2 separate regions of the Homo sapiens genome follow, and region 2 is linked to region 1. Evidence: promoter capture Hi-C in 16 types of primary human blood cells and fetal thymus (Javierre and others, 2016). All regions are on one chromosome and are shown on one strand. The core of a region is centred on a gene start or on the middle of the fragment in contact, and the rest is flanking DNA. Distances in the headings are between cores, read along the strand shown. Region 1 holds the start of LIPG (lipase G, endothelial type). Region 2 has its middle 53 kb from the start of SKA1.

Evidence for each region. The method cuts DNA at HindIII sites, captures the fragments that hold promoters and counts their contacts. A CHiCAGO score of 5 or more calls a contact.
Region 2: a fragment that was not itself captured here is called in contact with the fragment with the promoter of LIPG in region 1 in 1 of 17 cell types (total B cells); the score reaches 5.5 in total B cells.

The regions. Positions count from the first base shown.
Region 1 is chr18:49,559,553-49,566,361 of GRCh38, reverse strand. It overlaps LIPG (lipase G, endothelial type), which reads right to left and starts at 4,305. Exons shown (of 10, transcript NM_006033.4): 1 at 3,957-4,305; 2 at 864-1,045. The coding sequence starts at 4,053. RefSeq lists an enhancer at 3,598-4,098. The HindIII fragment of the contact is 7,229 bases long and covers 308-6,809 here.
Region 2 is chr18:50,424,944-50,431,752 of GRCh38, reverse strand. No RefSeq gene overlaps it. Among named protein-coding and RNA genes, the nearest start is that of SKA1, 53 kb to the right of the region's middle. RefSeq lists a cis regulatory region at 6,078-6,698. The HindIII fragment of the contact is 6,721 bases long and covers 1-6,447 here.

The DNA of each region.
Region 1 (6,809 bases), core at 3,056-5,555:
GGGCCTTAAAAAGATTCACACATATGATTCTGATTGTAGGTTGTGTGATGAGCAGGGTTAGACAGGCTCTTAATCATCTCTTCATTCAACTAGGTAGGCAGGCACCTACCCTCTCCTGCCCCTGACCTCAACCATGGATGACAGATTTAAAGACCCCAAAAGCATGTAACAGATATGAATTTCTCATCATTAAGAGGAGGACTGTCCCCTTCCAATTAGCCCAGGCAGAAATCTGCTCACTTAATAGTGCCATTTCCCTACAGACTGTCATTATATGAATGAATAAATTCCTGGCTGGTCAAAAGCTTCTGAAGCTGAGCACTAAAGCCCTTTTTTGTTGAAGTTTGTCATGGGCTTTTCAATGTGAATTGCTCAGCTAGGGCACATAAAGAGCCCCAGTGCCTTTAAACGGGGCTATCTCTATGCAAACAGGAGGGCACTATGCCAAGGGCAGTCAGCAATCCAGGCCAGCTGGCTACTCATAGGTTCTCAGAGCCAGTCAAGTTGCTTTAGTTAAGCTCAGCTCTCACGGCAGGACAGCCCCCTCCAGGCAGTGGTTGACCAGCGTAATTAAGTGTAATTAGAGGGGTCCTTAAGAGCCAGTGGAGCTGGGCTGCTGCCCTCAGGAGAGCCACTTTCTGAAAGCCCGTTGTATGCCATCATTAATACCACCCTGCTGGAGTCCAGATTGCCCCTTAGTGAATGCCCGTTACATTCTTCACAGCTGTCTGAAATACAAGCAGCCCACAAGGAAAGGGGGGAAGAGGGTTTGGAATCTGGAAACACCAGAATTCTTTCTAATTGACCAAAACAAAGGGAATCAAATCTTATATAAAGCCGCAGAGCTCCCTCCCCGGGCTCACCGTCCATCCGTGAATGATGAAAAAGGTTTTAGCTGTCATGTTGAAACTGCAGTCTTCTAAGGGCTGGCTGTGGCCGACGGAGAGGTAGCATCCTTCATGCTCTGGGTCCTTGGAGGTGCGGAGGTTAAACCTCACAGATGGTTTGACCTCAGTCTGTGTAGCTTTGGGTTTGTGGAGCTTATCTGGGGAGACAGAACAGAGCGTGGGTGCATCTAGCAGACTTGCGGAGTGAGAGACCTGGGGTCTGATTCTAGTTCAATCGTGAGCAATTTGCTTAAGCCATCTGGGTTTCGGTTTTTACATCTGCTGAATGTTCCCTTTTCACCTCCCAGAAAAACTGTGAACATTTTATAAAAAAGGACATCTCATTTATACTTAAAGAGTATTAATTAGTCACTAGTATTAATTACTGTCACTCTGAAATAAATAGATCTCTCTCTTGCATTTCCCTCTTCTTTCCTATCAAAAGGAGTTCTACTTCCTTCCTACTTTTAGAGTACAGGTTCTCAGTTCTTTTTCTGAAATGCTTGGGACCAGGTGAGTTTCAGAATTTAGAAGTTTTCAGATTTTAGAAAGGCATCATGGAGCATACACCATATATTATATAATGCTGCCAGTGGGGCCTGGGCTATTCCCCCTGGATCAAACATCCTAATATTTCTGCAGAGAATACATAACCACTCACATTTGAGGGCAAATATAAAGATAACCAATAGCCTCCTGTTATCTCAGGCCAGGTTTTTGCTGCCAAATAAGTTCAGATCAGGTAAGGCCAGGTCTTGCTGCCAAACAAGTTACCAAACACATTTTCCAATTTTGAGAGTTTGTGGATTTTGGAATTGGAGGCAAGAGGCTGTTGACCTGCTGGAAAATAGGCTTCCCCTAGTGTTCCCATCTAGGGAAACTCAGGCATCCTCAGTGCCCTTTCTAGTGATGGCATGTGCCAGGCATTCATCTGGTTTGTTAAGTAAATGACTAAAGCCATGGAGAAACTCCTAAAAGCAACAAAAATCCCCCCTTCCAGCTTCACTGCTCATGCACAGTGCCACCTAGGAGACGGCCCTGCTCCCAAAGTGCAGCTCATGTCACTGATGGCCACTGTGGCTTAACACTAAGTAGGTGCTGTCATCATGACACCGTTTCAGAAAGTCATAAATGGACCCCACCCAGCACTCTTTCAGCCATCCTGGGATGCATCACTGGATAACTGGCTAGAAAGTGAGAGTATCAAACTCTCCTATCACCCAGCAGGGAAAGATGCCAAATGACCATCTTGGAGTTAATTTATCTCAGAGTTAAGAAGCAAAAGGAAGAAGATACCAAAAGGAAAGAGATATAGTGGTGGAGAGGGCGGAGGGGAAAGGAGGGAGAGAGGGGGAAGAATGCAGCAGATGTAAGAGGGATAAGGTTCCAGAAAATGCTGCTGAATGCACATGAGCGGAAGTCAGGTTAACCGTCATGAAAGTAATGAACAAAAGCCCCAACCAGCAGAAATTTGAACCACGGACATAATGAGTTCGACAACTCCCCACCTTCTACCCAGATAGCCACTCATGCAGAGGCCAGATGGGGAAACCTAGGAGAAAAGAAGTCTCCTGGATTCCTGAGACAGATCTGCGGATAAACCCACATATGGACAAAGACTCTTCCTCTTAGAGTCTGACCTGCTCTGACCCCAAAGTTCTCTAGGTACATTCCTACTACTTTTGGCCTGGGTCACTTCAGCCTCTGGGACTTTCTGATTGTTCCTCACCCAGATGTCCTCATGGCTCCTTCTCTCACCCCCTTCAGCTCTTTGCTCAATGGTCAACTTCTCCAGAAAGGCCTTCCCTGACCACATCATAAAATCGCACCACCTTCCCCCACCAACATGCCCCACCTTCCTCCTCTGCTTGATTTTTCTCCATAATACTGAGCACCACTGATACTTTAATCAGTGCACTGTCTGTCTTCCCACCACTGAAATGTAAGTGTCACAAGGGCACAGATTGCCATCTATTTTGTCCACTGCTCTCTCCCCTGCTCCCAGAATAGTGTCTGACACTAAGTAGGTATGCAGTAAATACTTTTTGCAATGAAGGAAATGACTCACACATACTCAGAGGCCCAGAACACAGAAGTTAGAAGGAACTTTAGCATTTTACAGGTGAGGAGCCAGAGATGAGACCTGCCCTAGGCAATGCTTCTAGTTAGCACCAGAGTTGGAAACATGTTGAGTAAAGCAAGGCTTTCCATTCATTCACAGTAACCCTCCCACACATACACAAGCCCACACAGACCATTTGGCACAACCTCAGCAGACTAGAAGATGAGATGATGGGGTTCAGTTTAGAGGCTCCCCAGCCCTCCACTGCTTATCAGCTGACTTAGTTCTCACTCTGATTCTGACTCCCCCAGAGCTGACTGACTCTGGCTCCCCCAGGGCAAGCTGCCTCCACTGGCAAAGGCTGCCATACAGAACCCAAGAGGAAGAGAAGCTAAAAGCCAGGAGGAGGAAAGGGAGGAGGAGTGGGAAGAGGAAGAGTCGGGGGAGCACAAGAGTGTTGAAGAGGAAAAGGCTGGCAACCTGGGGGAATAGGCCCGGCAGCTTCTAAGCACAAGCGACCCACCAGACGCTCCCTGCAAGCACGAATCAAACCAAAGCCAGCTACCCTGCCACCTGAACTTTCAAGACACCTACACCAAGATTAAAAGGCAGCTCCAGGAGACACAGCTCTGACAGCCTTCTTGCCTCTCAAACCTCCAGGTTCAGGCATGAGGACAAGGTTTCAGAGCTGCTGCCAGGCCGCTCGGCTGGCTGGACAGCACCAGCACTGGCTTAGGGAGCCGTATAAGGGAAGGAGGTGGGGGTGGGAGGGCTGGCAAGAGCCAGCGCACCCTGCCAGCCTTTGCCTTTTGCATGACTTGCCGGGAATGCCCCCATCAGACCAGCAGAGAGACAGGTGGACTCCAAGGTGGATTGGAGGAGAGAATGGGCAGCGCAGTGGGAAAGGAAGAATTTCATAGGAACAAGGAGGGTTTGAAGAATCAGCAAGACAGAGGGGACCCAGCACAGAGAAGTGGCTGGGGGGAATAAAAACAAATTCACGTTACCTTCCAGCCGTCCCTCTGGACCAAAAGGTACGGGGCTCCCCGCAGCAAAGCAATAGCAGAGGCTCCAGAAACAGAGCAGAGGAACGGAGTTGCTCATCCTGCCCCGCCACACCCCCTCCCAAGAAACAGAAGTTTTAAAAAACAAAAACCACCTCTTGGTGTTTCCAGCAATCCCGGCCGGTAAGACCCTTCTCTCGGCCAGGGGCTGGGGGACTGGAGGCAGAGAAGGTGGAAAATGAAAACTTGGCGGCACGGAGCCCGGGCGGTGGCAGGGAGCGAGTGTCAACGGCTTGCCCCAGAACGAGATCTGCCCTCGTCCTGAGCCGCCGGGAGGCAAGGACTCGCTGCTGTCACGCTCCTATAGAGGTAGTTTTTAAAAGTATGGGAGTCATCTGACCCATCGCCAGATGGTGATTTGCATAATTTATTCCCGTCTCTGGGCTCTGATTGGTCACACCTTGCTGACGCCGGAACCGAGACTGGAGAAAGTTTGAATGAAAGCGCTGCACACTCACCGCGTGGACGCCGCACGCTCGGCCCCGCTTCCTCCCGGGCCCGCTCCGCAGGCAGCTGCGACTCCAGCAGCTCCAGCTTTCTCCCACTGCCCTCCTCCGGACACCCAGATCCTCCTCTCCCCACTGCCATCCCAAGTGGCGGAGGCGGACATTTCCCTGAAACTCTGCGTCCGCTGGGGAGGCGATCCCTGGAGAAGGAGAGCATCCTCTCCAAGGCTCAAAGCCACACTCTCTCTGGGAGTGGTCTATCCGCTCCCTGGGCCGGGAGTCCGTCGGGGGAGAGCCACCTGGTCATCCCCTTTGTCCTCCTCTTCTCCCTCCCTTCCCGCCTAGCGAGGGCCGCAACAGGTGCAGAAGGCGCGGCCGCACAATAACCCGGCGGAGCTAAGGGGCTGTGAGCTGCGGCCGGCGCTGGAGGATCGCACAGTACCTGCTCGGAATGCTCGCTCCGCCACTAGCTGCAAAACTCCAAGCGAGCCAGCCAGCTTCTCCGAGGCGGTTCTCTCGTCCGCAATACGTGGGTGATAATGTATCGGCGGCTTAGGGATGTTGGGAAAACTAAGAGTTCACGTAGCAAAGCACTTAGCGAGGCGCGGAGCTCGTGGCAGGCGCTCTCCTACGGTGGGGTGGAGGGCTACGGGAACACCAGGCGACCTCCTCAAAGGGACCAGTGAGCCGAGATTTGGAGTCTAAGACGCGTGGCCAGAGCCCAGTGTCTGCCGATGAGCACTCACTCCTTGGCGAGTGAAATCAAGCATCTCCTTTCTCTCTGTTCTCCATCATTTCCTCCCGGCTCTCCTTCCCTTTATTGATCCGGGTCCTGCGGCAGAAAGCAGCGAGCGGAGGGAGAACTTGGCCCGGAGTCTGCGTCTGGCGCTGGGGAGCGGGGACTGAGCCCGGAACACCGACGGGGCGGCTGCGCCAACAACCACTGCGGACGCAGGGCGGGTACGAGAGGCTGAGAGGCTGCGTCCCGCCATCCAGCCTCGCTCCAGCCGGGAGGATCCGGCTCTTTAAGACGATACCCTTAACCCTGCAGTCGCCCGGAACAGGTCCTGCCCCTGCCTGGGGAGGGAAAACCCCCACAGCAGTCCCGCGCCCCTTCCTCCCTAGCGTCGAGGATCCAGCTGGAGAGACCTGTGCGAGGAAACCGAGCCGGAGCCAGCAGATCCTGTTCCGACCTCGCCTCATTACTTTTGTTACTCCAGCTGCCAGCAGAGCACGCTTTGTCCCTCCCGTGTGCTATCATTCATTAACAAGACTCAGGCGGGCTTTAGTTTTTTAGTATAGAACTCAATGGTCTGTGTGCGATGGTAAATATCACCCCCGGATATGTTGTTCCCACTCTGTCTCTCTCTTCATGAGGAAACTATACAGACATAGGTCTAATGTTATCTCCATTTTACAGATGGGAAAACTGAGTCATGGGGACAGGCTGCAGATTTGAAGAAAGTCTCAAGACAACCAGGTCTCTCTTCTCTGCTCTAGGTTCAATTTGGCCAATTGACCTTTAAATGTGAGCTCTTGGCAACCTGGTCTAGTGGCTGAGGCAGGGGGTAAGCTGTAGTCAAAAGTCCTCTTCCCTAACCCTGGCAACATAGACACTCATCTCTACCAAAAAAAATTTTTAAATTAGCCAGGCAAGGTGGTACACCTGTAGTGCAAGCTATTAATACTTGGGAGGCTGAGGCGGAAGGAGTCCTTGAGCCCAGGAGTTCAGGGCTGCAATGTACCATGATCACACCACTACACTCCAGCCTGGACATCAGAAGAAAAAAACTCCTTCCCTGTTCTGAGTTGCTCATAGCCATGGTCCCTAGAACATTAACTGGATAATGTGGAGAGTGTGTCTTGAGAGCCTTTGTTATAGGTGAGATACCCCCACGGAAGCTAGGGTATTTTGCAGGGTATTGTTGGAAGGTAGTCCTGCAAAGTTAGTTATCCTGCCTAGAAAAAAAGAAAAACCCGGCCGGGCGCAGTGGCTCACACCTGTAATCCCAACACTTTGGGAGGCCGAGGCGGGCGGATCACCTGAGGTCAGAAGTTCGAGACCAGCCTGACCAACATGGAGAAACTCCATCTCTACTAAAAATACACAAAAAATTAGCTGGGCGTGGTGGCGCATCCCTATGATCCCAGCTACTCGGGAGGCTGAGGCAGGAGAATCGCGTGAGCCTGGGAGGCGGAGGTTGTGGTGAGCCAAGATCGCACCATTGCACTCCAGCCTGGGCAACAAGAGTGAAACTCCTTTGCAAATAAATAAATAAGTAAATGAAAAACCTGTGTTTTACAGGTTCAACAAATCAACATCTATTTTTTAACTGCCAAGGCTATGAAA
Region 2 (6,809 bases), core at 1,838-4,337, 870 kb before region 1:
ATCAGAAATTTGCTTCAAAATAATCCCAAGGGAAGAAGTAGCTGGGGGTATAAAGAAAACAAGGTTGGCCATGAGTTGTTAGTTGTTGAAACTTAGTGATGGGTACATGAGGATTCACTACACTACTCTCTATACTTTTTATGTCTTTGAAATTTTCCACAATAAAAGGTTTTCAATAGCAGGAAAATGTTTATGGCATAAGGTTAAATGGAGAAAAAATAATCAGAATAACTTATATAATATACACATAGTAAAAAAGAAGACAACAGGGCAATATGTGATTGCCTCTGGATGGCCATGCTGTGAGACAATTATGGGCATTTTGTTTTATTTTTTTCATAATTGATGCATTTCTCAATTTTTAGTATTATGAACTTTTTTATAATTGGAGAAAAAAGCAAGTATTTCAATTTTAGCATGATAGTTATTGCATAGAAGCTCAGAGGAAGGAATTTACTAACCCTGGCCAGGAAACTTTAAGCTAAAATTGACCTCTGGCATCTAGGTTGAGCTTAGAAGGATACATAAATAGTTCTATAGGTTAACTAATGAGGTCTGGTTGGGATACCTGGGTATAGGAGCCACATACATACCCGAAGCAGAGGGACAAGAGAAGATGTCACTTTTAACAAAACACAAGGTGTTTATCACAGCGGAAAGAGGGGCTATGCCTGGGAGCATGCACTTGCAGAGAACATGTAAGGTAAGGCCATAAGGAGAGTGTCACATTGGGGAGGATATTTTATTCTTGGCTCCTTTTTATTATGTCAACTTCCTTGCCAAAAACTCTCAAAGGCTTTCCATCATACTCAGAAGGAAATTCATCCTCCATGCCATGGCCTGCCTGCACCCTCTGGCCCTGCCTGCACCCTCTGGCCCTGCCTGCCTCCCCCATCACTCATATGTTCACTCCAGCCACACTGACCTCTCAGCTGCTGCTGGAACCCACCAAGCACACATCCCCCGGAGACCTGGGCAGCCGCTGTTCCCTTTGGTCTCTATGCCACCCCCACCCACCACATGCCATCCAAGGATCAATGACTTTGCTCCTCGCTTCACTCTGGTCCAGTGACACCTCACCAAGGAGGTCTTACCTGACCACCCTGTCACCACAAGCCACCATCATTCTGCATCTTCTCACAGCACTTGATGTTTCCACGGCAGTTTCCACTATCCAGCATCGGCATGTATTTATTTATCATCTCTTACTCCCCTGTATCACAACTGGCCCTCTCCCCCAACTTCACACACAAAAACCACACTAGAACGAGGGCAGTCGCTGCATTCTTCACTGCTGTATCTTTGTCACCTAGAATAGTCTCTGGCATATGTTAAGAACTCCATATATATTTCTTAACTGAATAGACCGTATACATCACATGGTGGGCAATAAGTGCGGGGCTTAAAATCGTGGGTTTTGGAGTTAGGAAGAGCTGTGTTCAAATTCCACCTCTGATTTTCACAGACCACATGACCTTAGGCAATTCAGGTAACTTCTCTCAGCCTCATCTATGAAAGGGGGCTAAACTGTAACAGGGTTGTTTTGCAGGCTAAAGGGGATACTGTACGTAAATCCCTGAGCACAGTGCCCATTAGACAGTAAGTAGCAATTAACCAAAGGTCAGAAGTGTCAAAAAACAAAATTACCACAAATTTTTAAATATTTTAATTGGCTTTATTTGCAATTTTAGAATCAGGCAACACTTCATTCCATAAAATAGAATAATTGTTCTGCTGAGCTGAGCAGAGGAGATTGGTTTATAGACAAAGAAAGGCTGAGGAAAGCAGAAACAAAACAAAAAGCAAATTGGTCATTTCAAAGCGACTTTCCTTGTAAAAAAAAAATGTTAAAGCAGAGGGGACTTCCTTATGCTGGCTGGGACTGGTCTGTTTGGGGATTTGGCCATTCTCTCTCTCTCTCCTGATTTCTCAGAAGGTCAGATAAACAACTTATTTTCAGCTTGGTGATATGTAACCTTAGCATGAGTGACTCCATTTTGGTTTGGTCTGCTGGGGCCTAATCCAAAACAAAGGCCTCCTGTAAGTTTTGTCCAGCACATATGAGCAAGTGGCTAGACTTGCAGCCTAAATCTAACCCACAGAAATGTGAATGACACACCCAGAGACTGGGAATTAAAAATTAGTTGATTTCCTACACTGAAACATTGGGCACTCTTACATAAATACCTGGTTCTGGAGCTTCTCTTTAGCAACTGGCCCGTCTTCTTCAGGGCAGCCATAAGCTGGAACTCAGTAGAGGTTCCCCCTTTGGAGAGGGAAGTGTTGGACCATTTCCATGTTGTCCCAGCCCACTTCCCTGTGACATCACCTACCTGGTCGCTGTGAGCATGCCTGTTTGCACCCCAGCAATATATGGAGGTAGTAGGGTTGATGTTTTTATGGTTGGCACTTGAACAGCTGCTATTCTCTTTTAGGGTTACCCACCGTTTAAATTTTCATGGCCACTAGAGGGCAATACAGATCTATTTTTTTAAAATACAGCAAAGGTTTTTGTTTTTTTTTTTAAATGTTACACGTTCTTAAATATGTGAGTAATTTATATAAATATATATTATATATTTTTATGTGCACATATATACAGGGAAGACTTTTTCTTTTTGATGATGATGAGGAGAACAATGCTATGTGCCAGGCCATGCTGATTGTTAACATTGTTAGATGTAAACAGGAGACACCATCAGTCCTCAGCAGAGACCTAAGACCTGAGTAACTTAGACTCCACCTAGGTAGTTACACATGGAGGAGAAGCACAAACAGATGGTTTTCTTCCCTTTGCTTCCAGCCTCCTAGAGCTATGAATTCTAGCATTCACTTACGTAGCACAGGAGGAGTGAGCTAGCAGAAAGTTTAAGAGCAGAGACCATAGGGGTGTACTACTACCCAAGTTCAAATCCTGGCTATGCCACTTAGAAGACATGGGATTGTAAAAGAAAATAAAACCTCAGGATCCCTAAACTTGTTATGCCCAAGGGACAATTAAGCCTGGGAACTGAGTCATACAACACAGCCATTCGTTTTCCCCCCGAACAGATAGCTGTAATTTCACAGCCCTGTGTTGTGAAATAAGCCAGGTTCTCACAATGACAAAAGGCCATATAACTCTCTGGATGGCCTCCCTCACAAATTACAAGGAAATTCCTTGCTAGCCCCTAAATATTTCAGATGACATATCCCCCCTATAAAACAAGCACATGCCCATGGTAACCTTGGGTCTGCAATCTAAGTTTAACTCCTACAACCAAGTTCTGTTAAATCTCACACTGACAATGTCGATTACAAACTTATCTTCCCAGGTGTAGAACAAGGACAAGCTGAGATCAATCACTCCTCTGCCTCCCCTGAGATGTGTGTGTAATTGACTCTTGCCTCTACTCCCTCTTTTCAGATATTCACCTTATCTTACATAAAACGTAGACTTACTGAGCATGAAGGAGAGCCTTACCAGAATATAATCATTTGCCTCACTGCCTACCCTCCCTCCCTTTGCTTGCTCTGTCCCCTTAAATACTGAGTTCCCGAAACCCTCTTTGGAAACAGCACAGGTCACAGATGTTTCTGTGGCTTGTGTTTTTCCTGGGCATGTCCTCAAACTTTGGCTCAATAAACCTCTACTGATTGAGACATTTGCCTCAGTCACTCATTTATTGGTTAACAGGATGTTTGGTTGGTTACTTTCAGTGTAACATTTTCCACATCTGTACAAGTGGGTTGTTGGGAGGATGAAATGAATTAATATGTGTGGGGCCAGCTTCCTCAGAGAGTGGCCAATGCAGTCTCAGCCCCTGGCTCCTCCTCAGAGGGCCTCTTTTTTGGAGTAATGCTCTCTGGTTGCTGTCTTAAAATTTTTCCTAATTTTCTCTTGGAATCTGTGTTTTATAAGTGAGGTCTGATGAGCCAATGAGGCACATGCCAGGGACTTGGAGCCTCAACTCAGACGTGGTCCTGCCTCCCACTATGTCCCCAGGATGAATACTCTGCCACCTCCTCCCTGGCCCCCTGGGGCAATAGCCACAGGGAGCTAAGCACCAGGAAAGTGTCCTTTGGGAACATAGGTCACTGACAATTGGCCCAGCTTTCAGGGAATTGGGGGCAGCCTTCAAGCTGAATTCTGAGACTCAGCCTTACTGCAGGTGGAGAGAGTAAGGAGTCCTGGGAAGTGAGGCCCAGAGAGGTAAGCAGAAGAATGACAAGAACCAATTTGCTCTAAGCCAACAATAACTGCCCAAACAGTACAATTAACTACAGCAAGAATGGACCCAGATGGAATGAAGAAAAGTTTAGCACATCCCTCAAGATTAAGTATGTTTCTAAAACATCCTTCTTAAAGGATGCTTCTAGATGATCAAGAATCTCTAGTACAAGAAATCATCTTTGAGCTAACTACTAATGATCCCAAAGTAGCATAAACATTAGTTCTTAAAGCACTAGAGATTAAGAAATTCTAAATCAGATGGACATCAACAAGACAACAATATTTTGGGATTTTTCACTAAAATTTTAAAGGAGTCATAAACTTTTATGAAATCAACTGAGAATTCCACAACACCCATAAATTCATCTTATCAGTGATAATATTATAATAAGGACAGCAGTAATAAGTTTATTACTGAATAAGGTAAGGGAAGCAGAAACACTAAGGAGAAAAATTAAATGATGGTTGACTTCAATTAGGAAGACAATAGAAAAAGATTTAAATACTTTTCAACAGTAAATAGAAGACTGACAAGTTATTTCAATTTTAAAATATGCATCAAAAATATTGAAATTCCTGAGGGCAATATATTATGTTTTTAAGCAGTTTACACATTCTAATCCAACAAGTCAAGTCTACTTGGACACAGTAAATTTAGACTGATGGTTTATGACGCTCCAAACTAAAATCGGTATCATAAGACCATAAACAATCCCATTTATGTTTATTTTAATTATGATTAATGGTTTGCCATTTGTGTAGTTTTAAATGCTTTAAATAACCTGAACTTGGAATGAATCAACCTCCCCCTGAATTTACATGAAGTATTAGTTTTTTACCAAATTTGATTACAAATTATGAAAGCAAGTTTTAAAATTACCCTCCTTTGTTTTGTAATGGTAAACATCTTTTTTCAGACCTAAAATCATTCCATTCTGATATAATGGTAAACATTATTTTAAAATATTATTATTTTTGTTGTATGGTTAAATCCCATGGCTTTTCATATTTTGAAGAGTTCTGTAGCACTTTGGTAAATAAATATCAACAAATGATAAAGTTATCATGGAAATATAAATTGAAAGCCTTATTTATAAAAATGAAGTCATAATGCTTTTTCTACTCTTGCTGCTTTCACAACCAAATTTTTCTTTGTTGTATCACCTAATCAAAGTATGATGAGTGGGTCTCAGATTCAGCCTAAGAAAAGGAAGAAATGCTTATAGAAGTTCTAAAGCTAGAAAGATTTATCTACACAACTTACAGACTTTTTTGAGATATAATGTTTATAAAAATTTGGAAGAACCCAAAATGCCTAACAATACAGAACTAATTAAATATATCACATGAGAAAGTATGTATTTATTTTTTTATTTTATTTATTTATTTATTTTTTTTGAGACAGAGTCTCACTTTACTGCCCAGGCTTTGATCCCTGGGATCAAACCAGGAGGTTGGAGTGCAGTGGCATGATCTTGGCTCATTGCAAACTCTGCCTCCTGCATTCAAGCAATTCTCCTGCCTCAGCCTCCAGAGTAGCTGGGACTACAGGAGTGTGCTACCACGCCTGGCTAATTTTGTGTTTTGTAGAGATGGGGTTTCACCAAGTTGGCCAGGCTGGTCTCAAATGCCTGATTCGGGTGATCTGCCTGCCTTGGCCTCCCAAAGTGCTGGAATTACAGGTGTGAGCAACTGCACCCAGCCTGTAGGTATTTAAACTATATTATAAAACAGTATTTATTAACATGAAAATGTTTATAATCTATCACATGTTAAAAGCCAGTCATACATGTATTACATAAGGCTCTTTTTGTAAATTTGATAATGTGTATCTTTTTGGAAAGGAAAAACACTAGAAGAATTTGTTTTCACTCTTAATGGTGATTACCTTTGGGGAGATGGTGCTGTTGCGGGAATCAGGAGACTGGAGAGACCTCTGGGTGGAACAGGAAGATTTTATTGAATGCACTTAGGCCCCGTGGATTAACATCCAAAGGCTGGGCTCTGAACAAAGACAGGGCTTGACTTTTATACACACTTCTGAAAGGTGGTTGGCTAGTTTGAAACAAGTTTACAGTGGCGTGGAGTGCAGTGGCATGAAAGCAAGTGTACGGAAGCAGAACAAAGGCAGTTAATCAAACTGTGACAGGTTCATAACTCAGGCTTTCATGTGACTCTTGCTATGCGGCCCAGATGGCTGTTATCTCAGCTTGCTCAAGAGCCTTGCACAAGCTTATCTCATATCCTTCACTATGGTGCCTAGATGGCTGCAGTCCAGTCCTGCTCAGGCATGTCTCATGACCTTCACTGTGCTACTCAGATGAAAAACAGAAATTTACAGTCACTAGTTACAGAAAATAGGAATCCATAAACTCATAAAACTTGCAGAGCAGAGTACAACCACATGGAGTGGGGAGGAATTTTGTGGGGGACGTTTACTCATACCAAAGGAGAGAGGAAAATTTGTTTTTCTTTTTCACATTTCCTGCTTCAGTGCATTCTCTAATGACTTTTTCTCTTTCTTTCTTTCTTTCTTTCTTTTTTTTTTTTTTTTTTGAGATGAAATCTCACTGTGTCACCCAGGCTGGAGTGCAGT